Regions from separate parts of the Homo sapiens genome. Here regions 2 and 3 are each linked to region 1. The links are contacts of gene promoters, found by promoter capture Hi-C in blood cells and fetal thymus (Javierre and others, 2016). All regions are on one chromosome and are shown on one strand. The core of a region is centred on a gene start or on the middle of the fragment in contact, and the rest is flanking DNA. Distances in the headings are between cores, read along the strand shown.

Region 1 (3,506 bases), core at 658-3,157:
TCTATCTTTTAAGTCATTTCCATTGATGCTGTGATACTCGTTAATGTGGGAAAGACTTTATTAGTAAAAGAGTAAAGTAATTTAAATGTTAGCAAAAAAGTTTTGTATCACAACTTTGAATCTGTTTAACAAAACCGGTTAGGCTGTTAATGTTTGCTTGCTTTCCTTTATACGTATTATACTCATATGAGGACTTAAAATTACATTCTGTAAATAAATAGGCCCATGAGAGAACTTTCATTTAGAAGCAAACTTTGAAGGTGCAGTTACTGCTTAAGTGGGCTGTGCAAATATTCCTGTCACTGGAGGTCCCTTTAACTGCGTGGGGGACCTTCAGAATCCAAGGGGCAAATAGAAACTTGGAGAAGTGAAGAGAAAAAAAGGGCACATTGAGATGGCACTGGAGATCCTTGCTAAATAAAGGAAGATGTTGGCAAGGAATACAGAAAAAAGTATGAAACAGAGACTACTGGAGGTATTCAAGTTGGAAAATGCAAAGTGTCCCTTTTTTTTTTTCACATCAACAACTTACGTTTATGCTAATCTACTTAAATGTTAAGTCTGGCCAAGCAATTAGACTATTTAACCTTGTTTGGAGTTAAATGCAGACAGTGTGTGAGACTGTGTTCACAGTACTGTATTACGTCTTTAGGAAAGAGGATCTAGATTTCATTTTGTCCTTCTCAGGATTGTGTCTGCTATGCAAGCACTGGTTTTCTATAGTCTGGCTTGTAAGGCACAAGGAGCAATTAAACAGAGGATTAAGGTAAACAGGTGTGTCCCATCACTTCCCCTCTTCATACTATATTGTTCATATTCTCTGAATTTCATACAAGCTACAGTGGAAGCAGTAAGTTAACTTTAAAAAATCATAAGATTGCCCATACTTCTAGGTTATGCAAATTGATTTCTGAATAAGCCCTTGTTTGCGACATCGCTGGTAAAGGCAGGATGTTAACTTAAAGAGATGCCAGATTTTGGACTTGTTAGTTATAGGCATCAAAACCTGGAACTAGGAAATGTATTTCCACGTATTACTTCCATTATCCTACTAATGTTAGAAACAGGCAACTAACCACATCCTCGACCCCAACCATATTTCAGGAGAGGCTGGCTGAATTTTGCAATATGATTCCAAAAGGGAGTATTTGCAGGGTCTTTGAAGCTATAAATCCCCTAGGAAGAGTCTTCCCCACCTGTCAGGACCTGGACAGTGTCCACAGAGGGTGCCGGGCGCACTACCGCCACGCGGCGCTGAGGTCTGCCTCTCGGGTTTTGGGAGAGCTCTTTTTATTCTAAATTACAGACTTTGCAGCCACCGGATATCCTCGCTGCATAACTGGCAGTGGCCATGTGGCTGCACTCGCGTTTCCTGACAACCACTGCATTATTTCCACTAATATCCTGTGTCCAAGGCCTCTCGCTTGGCGACTCCTCGTTCCCACCTCCACCGCCACCTCTTCCCTCGAGGGTAATCTCTCGACCGTGGCCCAAGCGCCTCGACAAAGCGGCAACCACCCAAAAGTTCATGAAAATGCACTTGGCAAAAGTGGGCCGCTAGTCCCCGCGGACAGCTCTAAGCGACCCCGTCCCAGCCGAGGAAAGCGCCCGGGCCCCGCAGAGTGCGCGCTGCGGGGCGGGCCCGCGGCCATGTGCTCCGCGCCGGGGCGGGGCACCCGCGGGTTCGCATTGTCCACTTTCCCCCGCACCCCGCCGCGTTCCGTCCCTCCCTATCTGCGGCGCACACGCGCTCAGAGCAAGCGGCGCGCCCGGGTCTGGAGCTGCAGCAGCTGCGGCAGCGGCGGGGGTGGTGCGGCGCGGGGCGGGGCGGGGCGGGGCGGGGCGGGGCGGGGCGGCACGGGGGCGGGCCCGGGGCGAGGCAGCTGGGGCGCCAGCGAGCTAGCGGCGAGCGCGGCGAGCAACGGAGAGGAGCGCGAGCAGCAGCATGGCGGGGCTCCGACGCCCGCAGCCCGGCTGCTACTGCCGCACCGCGGCGGCCGTGAACCTCCTGCTGGGCGTCTTCCAGGTCCTGCTGCCCTGCTGTCGCCCGGGAGGGGCTCAGGGACAAGGTCAGCCTTGCGCCGCTGGGCTCGCTCTGCCTCTCCACCCCGCCCCCGCTCTTTCTTTTAGGGAACTGCTGAAATCTATAAGAGGGCGAGGGGAGGAAAGGGAAAGGGGCAGGAGGAGGAAGGAAAGCTGTTGCGATTCTCCGCTGATAACATTTTCTGACCACAGCGTCCCGTCCCGCGCCTCTCTGCCCCGTACAGCTGGAGAGCGGGGCAGTCGCGGGGCTTGGGGACCGCTAGCCGCTCGCGCCCTGGAGCCTTTGTGCGCGGGCCCCTGCGCCCCGGGCGCAGCCCCCGCTTTGTGTGGCGCGCGCGGGTGCCCCGCAGCGGCCCGGCTTCCTGCAGCTTTGTTCCCCCGAGCCTGGCCGCCCAGGGTCCACACTCCAGATGCTCGGGCTGCGGAGCCCGGAGTGCCTCGTGGGGTGTCTTCACTCCCACTTCGTCCCCCCACCCCCAGCACGAGCACCCCGAGCCTGCCTGCACGCTGTCGCCTTCGCGTCCGAGGGGCCGCCGGCTCACACCCCACCCATTGTATTTTTATCCTTGGCTCGCCCCTGGGATGGCCTCTGTTCCCAGGAGGAAAAAGAGACGTGTTTTGGTGAGGCGGGGGGCACGGAGGGACGGTAGGGGAAACAGGAAGCGTTTCTTTAGCGTGCATTAAAAACGTGGTGTATTTTTTGGTGTTCCTGCAGCGATTGAGCCGTTGCCGAACGTGGTGGAGCTGTGGCAGGCAGAAGAAGGGGAACTCCTGCTGCCCACTCAGGTGAGGACGACCAGGTGACAGGGCGGCTGTGGGTGTACGAGGGAGGAGAGGCGGGGAGGCCCCCGGTCCTCCCCACCCCCTGTCCAAGCGGCACAGGCGTTCGGGCCACTTTGCAAGGCAAATAAACGTTAGGGGCCGAGCCTGAACACCTGGCAACGGTGGCCTTCCCGGCTCCTCCCACGCCATGTGACAGGGCCTGAGGCAGGCCGGCCCCAAGTTCAGAAGGTGGGAACCCAGGCCACCTCAGCAGGGAAGCGGCCAGCGGTCTGTTCGGCCGTGGGTGTCCTGGGTGCACACTGTTCCCTAAGTGAGCTGGTGCTGTGTGGATGGCAAGTGGCTAAGAGGTTGAGGACAACAGGAGTATTGATTTCATAAATGTTAGAGTGGTATTTGCCATTAGCGTTAAGTAGCTTTGGGATGGAGATGTGACTCTCAAGGATTGTCATCTTGGATTTTCTCCAAGTGCCCTTAATTCCTGTTAAAATACACCCACTTAAGAACTTGAATTTCTGGTTTTTTTCTCTGTATGATGATATGATGATTGCGTGTAGAAAAATAATTACTGACGTTTTATTGGGAATCTGTAGCATCATAGAGGGTTTATTGCTGCAACAGATACAGTACTGCAAAGCTTTTAACTTTTACAAGAAATTCCCATTGACTGTGAAGTGTGCACA
Region 2 (3,506 bases), core at 418-2,917, 52 kb after region 1:
TATATATTTTTTAGAGACAGGGTTTCGCCATATTACCCAGGCTCGTCTTGAAATCCTGGGCTCAAACAATTCACCTGCCTCAGCCTCCCAAAGTGCTGGGATTACAGATGTGAGCCACTGTGCCTAGCCCTAAAATCGAATTCTTTATACGTGAAGTTTATTTAAAAGGAAAGAAAACCCCACCAGGCTATATCTACATTTGAATGCTTGTGCAATCATTTCTTTAGGATACATTACTAGAACTGGAATTGCTGGGTCAAAAAGTGGGCATGCTTCAAGGCCTTTGAAAAATATTCTGTACTTGCCCTCCAGAAAGGTTGTTTCAGTTATACCCTTATGCTAATGTCTTGAGATTGTCAGTTTCTTACGAGCCTCCCAGCACTAGGTACCAGTACTTTTTGTTCATCTTTTAAATTTTATTTATTTATTATTATTATTCTTTTGAGACGGAGTCTTGCTCCGTCACTTAGGCTGGAGTGCAGTGGGGGCGATCTTGGCTCACTGCAACCTCCGCATCCCGGGTTCCAACGATTCTCCTGCCTCAGGCTCCTGAGTAGCTGGGATTACAGGTGCGCGCCACCATGCCTGGCTAATTTTTGTATTTTTAGTAGAGATGGGGTTTCACCGTGTTGGCCAGGCTGGTCTCAAACTCCTGACCTCATGATCCACCCACCTCGGCCTCCCGGAGTGCTGGGATTACAGGCGTGAGCCACCACGCCTGGCCAGCTCATCTTTTAAATTTTAATCTAAGAGGTCCAAATTGGTATTATATACTTCTTTTAGTTTGCATGTACTTATGAAGATGAAGTTGGTTGAAGTTTCCTTTGTTTCCACCATTGGACTTATTTGCTATGCCTGGAGATCACTTCCTGTGCCGCCTCCAGACCTCTGCTGGGACATCCCTTAATCTAGGAAGCATTTCCCACCTCTTCCCTCAACTGCACAGGCACAGACATGTTCTCTCATCCTCCCTTGCACGGGTCCTTTACAAGGCCCTGGGCGGGTTCCTAGGAATGTTTTTACATGACTGTGTTTTTTATTAAGTCTTCAGAAGTAATATATAGTGTGTATTTTTTTTTCCTTTAAAATACTCCACTTTGCCCTCTCACATAAGTTTCAGAGCTCCATAAAACCTGGATCTGCCCTGCCTGGGACATTAGGTGTCGAATGTAATGCTGAATTGAATGGAACCCACTGAGTATATTGCTCCTTAGCGCTCTTAATGTTTAGGTCAGGAGCCTTTTGTTCAAGGAAGCTTGGTTACCAGTGAGTGGGCTCCTGAAAACTATGGTAGCAGTGAAAGAAAGACTCTTGGAAAATGGTTATGATTAATCTTGTGTGCAGTGTCTGTGTATATGCAGTCATGTGTTCCCAAACCTTATTAACAAGATGAAATACCTATTTTAGTACACACTTGATTTTCTGGATAACCCAATGGTGGTAGTAGGCACCCAAATAGCCTCTCTCCTAACTCTTTGGTTCACCTTGTTTAAAGCCTTTAGACTGAGTAAGAATCTTTTGGACCCTGTTTTTTTGGCTTGAAAATTTGCCCAATTTGAGTGGTGGGTGATATATTTACTAGTTTTCTTTATTCCTTGAACTTACGATGAGTGTGTGTTTTATAATGGGGTGAAAAAAAAAACAGTAACCTTTTTGTTGAACAGACAGAAAATTTCCAACTTGCTTTTAGTGAGAGCTGAGACCTGACAATGGGAGTGAACATGCCGGGCTTGATTCCAGCCAGGTTCCTGTTTAGAATTGAGGCCGAGGTCAGTCAGCAGGTGCTTGCGTTCTCACACAGTCCTTGGAACCAAGCATGCTGTGCACTGTGATTGTAGGACTGAACACTTGCACATTAAAAACTCCTCCTCATTTCCCGAGCACTTCTTGTGGGATGCTGCTGCGCATTTCGAAAGACAGTGTTTTTGCTATAATAGAAAGCTGTGTCCACCAGGGGTAGAAGGGAACACACGAGAGCAGGTCCAGAGAGAAAAAAGAATCAGAAGAGGCTGAACCTAGTATTGAGGCCTATGAAAATAAGATGCAGACATCATACTTGAGAAACTGTTAATGGAATAGAAAAGCTTGAAAACATAGTGAATACATTCAATTTTTTGGTCTCAGCACAAAATCACTGGAGAGAAAAATGTACGTAACAAGTGTGATGTGTTTGGTGCTACAGGGAAGGGATATAGAATAGTGATACTCTTAAGCATCATAGAAGCGATGGGAACATCAGGCCAATTACTGAGAAATTTCCTATTGACTGAAATCATGTGTGACAGTTTCAGAAATAATGATAGGCTCTCGTATATGTTGGTACGAGTTTACTGTAAAAATCAATAGCCCGACTTGGTGCTCAGGCTCTGTTTTCTCCTTCGGTGATATCGAAACTGACTTTCAGCCCTTTCATTGCACTTGTGACTCCGGGGGACACGTGCTGATTTCCTGGTTCTATCCTAACGGTGCCTGCCCTTTTCTGTTTACTCCATGTCAGTGCAGGCATTGATAAGAATTCTAGTCGGTGGGGTGGTGAAGACATCAAGAGACCTTAACCTGGGGTTTCCTTGCTGTATCTTAAACTTTTGACCACCATTCTTACATTTGCTGTGATCAGTTTGTAGTCTTTATGTGTAATACTTTTTCTCCCCACCTTCCTGGGGGGAAAATTCCACATGTAAAGGATTTGTCAAATTGGTGATAAGACCAAACAGCCTTAGGGGACATGAGAAGTCTTATGAGCATTGTAGACCTGCTGGTGAGCTAGGGGGTGTAGGCTGTGTGGGGTACTTTCTGTTCTTTACTTAGAGATTTGGTAGGGAAAGTTCTCTGGAATTTCAGCAGTTGTTCTGATGTCATGTGTAAATATTATCTTTCTGTGTTGCAGCTTGGGGCCAAGCTTTTCATGGAAACTGCTGAAAATTATTTAGTGGCATAGTAGTTGTTTTTGAAGTTGAAGACTTTATACCCAAATCCAGATGGACGAATCTTTCACTTTCTTGCTACAGATTTTGTGAAGAAGTGTTACTCAAACTTTAGGTGACATTAACACCATAAGTGTGTTAGGGGAAGAGCTGGGATAAAGGGATGGAGATGCTTTGAGCTGCTACAGTAGTTTGCACATTCTTACCTGTCTGACTCTATTTGCCATCACATATAGAATGTGGAGAATGACCAAGCAATCTTAAACTTTAATAATTGGGTTTACATAGGAAGGAAACAACAGGCAAATCTAATTGTAAAGCAGAGACATGCATTTAGTACATAGATAATTGGACCAATTTCAGAGACAGAAATGAAGGAAAAATGAGCCCCACAGGCTTGAGGGTCAAGCTAGGCTGTAAGACAGAAATTCACTCTGCATTTCTAGGAAGATGGCTTGTGGCTTTTACACAGGAGGACTCTGAAGAACCTGCTATATCAAGTGTCAGTTATGTGCAAGAAACGGGATTAGATACTGTGGATGAATAGGGAAGTTTACTAGTCCTTGACCACAGGGAGTTCAC
Region 3 (3,506 bases), core at 429-2,928, 35 kb after region 1:
AAGTAGCTGGGACTACAGGCACGCGCCACCATGCCCGGCTAATTTTTGTATTTTTAGTAGAGAGGGGATTTCACCATGTTGGCCAGGATGGTCTCAATCTCTTGACCTCGTGATCTGTCCACCTTGGCCTCCCAAAATGCTAGGATTACAGGCGTGAACCGCCGTGCCCAGCCCCTTATGACATTCTTACCCTGATTGGTTATTCAGCTTCAGCTTGAGCACTTCACGTGATGGGAAGTTCACCTTTGAAACTGACTTTCCATTTTTGAGCCTCTCTCATTGTAAAGATGTTCTCTGATTTTGACTTCACATTTGCTCTCTTTAGTCTTCCACCGTCAGATCCCAGTCTCACAGACTTGAGACAGTTATCACATCTCTTCTCTAGGTTGGTTTTACCTAAATTTTTTTTTTTAACTCGCCCAGGCTAAATTATTCCTCATGTTTTTCAGTCAGTCCTAATGTTAACTTGGTCAGAACCAACCTTCCTTCCTCCCTTCCTCCCTTCCGTTCCCTTCCGTTCCCTTCCCTCTGTCCCATCCCTCCCTCCCTTCTTTCTTTTTGCAAGAGTAGATAGGGTCTCACTCTCTTACCCAGGCTGGAGTGCAATGGTACAATCATGGCTCACTGCAGCCTCAAACTCCTGGGCTCAAGCAGTCATCCTGCCTCAGCCTCCCATATAGCTAGGACCACAGGCTTATGCCTCCCCACCCCCAGCTAATTTTTATATATTCCTTTGTAGAGACAGGGTTTCTTTATGTTGCCCAGGCTGATCTTGAACTCCTTGGGCTCGAGTAATCCTCCAGCCTCAGCCTCCCAAAGTGCTGGGATTACAGGCGTGAGCCACCACACCCATCCCAGAACTTTTTTAGTTTAAATTTTGCCAATAGTGGATAGAGTGATTCTGTTGAGATCTGAATGGTGCCCTATGTAGTGAATCCATTTCTTTTTTGGTCTGGACTCTACTTATTTTAATGAAGCCCAAGATTTCATTAGCACTTCTAGTAGCAGTGTCTTTCTACTTGGATCGTGTTATTTTATGGCCAAACAAGATCAAACACAAACAAAAACCTTTGGGTCCGTCATCTTCTTTTTATTTTAATGGGAACTGCTAACTTCTCTTTCTCAATATACACTTAAGTAATGAATTGCCTTCTTTAAAATACAAATATTTACATTTGGCCTTGTTAAGCTTTATCTGGATGATTTAGAACTATCTTAGCCTATTGAGACCAAAGAAACACACACGCTCACACACGCGTGCATGCACACACACACAGGCATGTGCACTTTTTTCCTAGTTGTGAAAATCGATGGAATGACTACATGGCTTAGTCTCCTCTTTCTCCAGAGACGCCGTTTAATGATCAGATAGAAATTTAAAAGGTTAATAAAAACCTATAGTGAAGAAATGCTATCAGTTGATAATAGAGTTAAAAAAAAATTCTGGAAGATAGAAAGTGGATAACTGATAGAATATGGTAACTGATGAAAGTGGAAGATTAACAGGGTACGCCAAGTACCCTGCACAGTGGATTTAGAGAATCCCACCAAGCATATTGTGAAATTTTAGAATAGCAAGAATAATGACCATACTGGATGCTTAACTAAAGAAGTGGGACTTATAATGCCCACCTCACAGGGGTTTTGCAAGTTTTTTTTTTTTTTTTTTTTTGAGACGGAGTCTCGCTCTGTCACCCAGGCTGGAGTGCAGTGGCGCGATCTTGGCTCACTGCAACCTCTGCCTCGGGTTCAAGCAATTCTGCCTCAGCCTCCTGAGTAGCTGGGACTACAGGCGCGTGCCACCACACCCGGCTAATTTTTTGTATTTTTAGGAGAGACAGGGTTTCACCGTGTTAGCCAGGATGGTCTCGATCGCTTGACCTCATGATCCGCCTGCCTCGGCCTCCCAAAGTGCTGGGATTACAGGTATGGGCCACTGTGCCCAGCTGAGTTTTGCAAGTATTAATGTAAATAATGTGAGTAAAGCCTCTACTGTATTTTCTGGCACATGGTAAGGAGTCTCAGGGTATGTGTGCAGGTGTTGTATTACTTCTTGCCATCACTTTTCTTACCATCATCACTGTCACTGCTATGGTGGTGAAGAAGCATATCAGTTAGGATTAGGACCAGTTTCATGAGACAGAAAACCCAGTAACATAAATGAGATAGAAGCTTTCCTCTATACTGCTTATCTGAGAGAGCAGAGGGCAGGCCAGGACTGAGGTGACAGCTTCATAATCATCAAGGCCATGCCTCCTCTGTCTCCTAATCCAAGGTGACTGCCCAACCCGCAGGATCATCTTCATTTCCCCTCCAGGATGGAGGAAGGAGCTAGAGTAGGATTTCCCCTCTACCTTTTCCAGGTCACTTCCTGGAAGTATCCCCCAAAGGGTTTTTTTTTTTTTTTTTTTTTTTAAATGGAGACAGAGTCTTGCTGTTACCCAGGCTGGAGTGCAGTGGCATGATCACGGCTCACTGCAACCTTAACATTCAGGGCTCAAGTGATCCTTCCACCTCAGACTCACAAGTAGCTGGGACCACAGGTGCCCGCCACCATGCCTGGCTAATTTTTTGTAGAGATGAGTTTTCACCGTGCTTCCCGGGCCGGTCTCCAACACCTGGGCTCAAGCAGTCCTCCCACCTTGTCCTCCCAAAGTGCTGGGATTACAGGTGTGAACCACCGCGGCTGTCCCAAACTTGTATATACATCTCATTTCCAGAACTTAGTCATATGGTTGCATCTCAGCTGCAAGTGGTAGACTGGGAAGAGGAGTCTTTTCTGCAGCCATGTGCCTGTTTCAAAATGTCTTCTTAAGGAGGACAGGAAAACAGCTACTGGGTTTGGCAGCTAGCATTCTCTTTGTCACAGTGAACCTTATTAGTATACTCAATCCTAGGCTTCTGTAAGGTATCATTTATTCTGACTCTTTGGGAGTTAACACGAAGGATCATTGATATATTAACTTGTGCGTTGGTTGAAAAATGAATTATGTGTAAACTAATCATTAAACCATAGAAGCTTTTCAAATGGCTGAATGTGCATTGAAATGGCTTCTGCTGAAAAAGTTCAGTTTAACATTACTTTGAAAAACTTCTGCGTATAGAAGAAAATTGCAAATTATTGAAACTATCTTATGACACTGGTATTAGTCATACATTATTTGGGATGGAGATAATTCATGCAGATTGCTTTGAGTATGAGAAGATGCTTAGAGCATTTGGTGTTTATAATTTCTTGTTACTTGATCTCTCTGCCCTGGAAGTGCTATAACTCTTGATTGTCACTCCTGAGAAATCTATGTCTTAGGTTTTTCACATTATTACCTTCTATTATGAAGATAACTAGGGGTCAATGACCCTTTTCCTAGATGTAACATTTCTAGAAAGCCAATTACTGCAAAGTCTCATTTTGCAGGGTCATCTTTTTTTTTTCCTCTACTCTTCCTGACCATGTTTATTCCTATTGACCCAAATACTTGAGATTTATTTTTAGTTAGAAGAACTCA

The links. Contacts are between HindIII fragments. The CHiCAGO score rates a contact against its expected background, and 5 or more counts as called.
Region 2: a fragment that was not itself captured here is called in contact with the fragment with the promoter of TMEM131L in region 1 in 10 of 17 cell types (activated CD4 T cells, naive CD4 T cells, total CD8 T cells and 7 more); the score reaches 15.8 in activated CD4 T cells.
Region 3: a fragment that was not itself captured here is called in contact with the fragment with the promoter of TMEM131L in region 1 in 7 of 17 cell types (activated CD4 T cells, naive CD8 T cells, naive CD4 T cells and 4 more); the score reaches 11.9 in activated CD4 T cells.

What each region holds. Positions count from the first base shown.
Region 1 is chr4:153,464,453-153,467,958 of GRCh38, forward strand. TMEM131L (transmembrane 131 like) reads left to right here and starts at 1,908. Exons shown (of 35, transcript NM_001131007.2): 1 at 1,908-2,069; 2 at 2,759-2,829. The coding sequence starts at 1,946. RefSeq lists enhancers at 1,369-1,548, 2,919-3,506, 3,079-3,168 and silencers at 1,589-1,738, 1,779-1,878, 2,249-2,608. The HindIII fragment of the contact is 8,794 bases long and covers 1-3,458 here.
Region 2 is chr4:153,516,401-153,519,906 of GRCh38, forward strand. All of the region lies in intron 3 of TMEM131L (transmembrane 131 like), which reads left to right. Among named protein-coding and RNA genes, the nearest start is that of TMEM131L, 52 kb to the left of the region's middle. The HindIII fragment of the contact is 829 bases long and covers 1,254-2,082 here.
Region 3 is chr4:153,499,552-153,503,057 of GRCh38, forward strand. The region is part of intron 3 of TMEM131L (transmembrane 131 like); the gene reads left to right. Among named protein-coding and RNA genes, the nearest start is that of TMEM131L, 35 kb to the left of the region's middle. The HindIII fragment of the contact is 983 bases long and covers 1,188-2,170 here.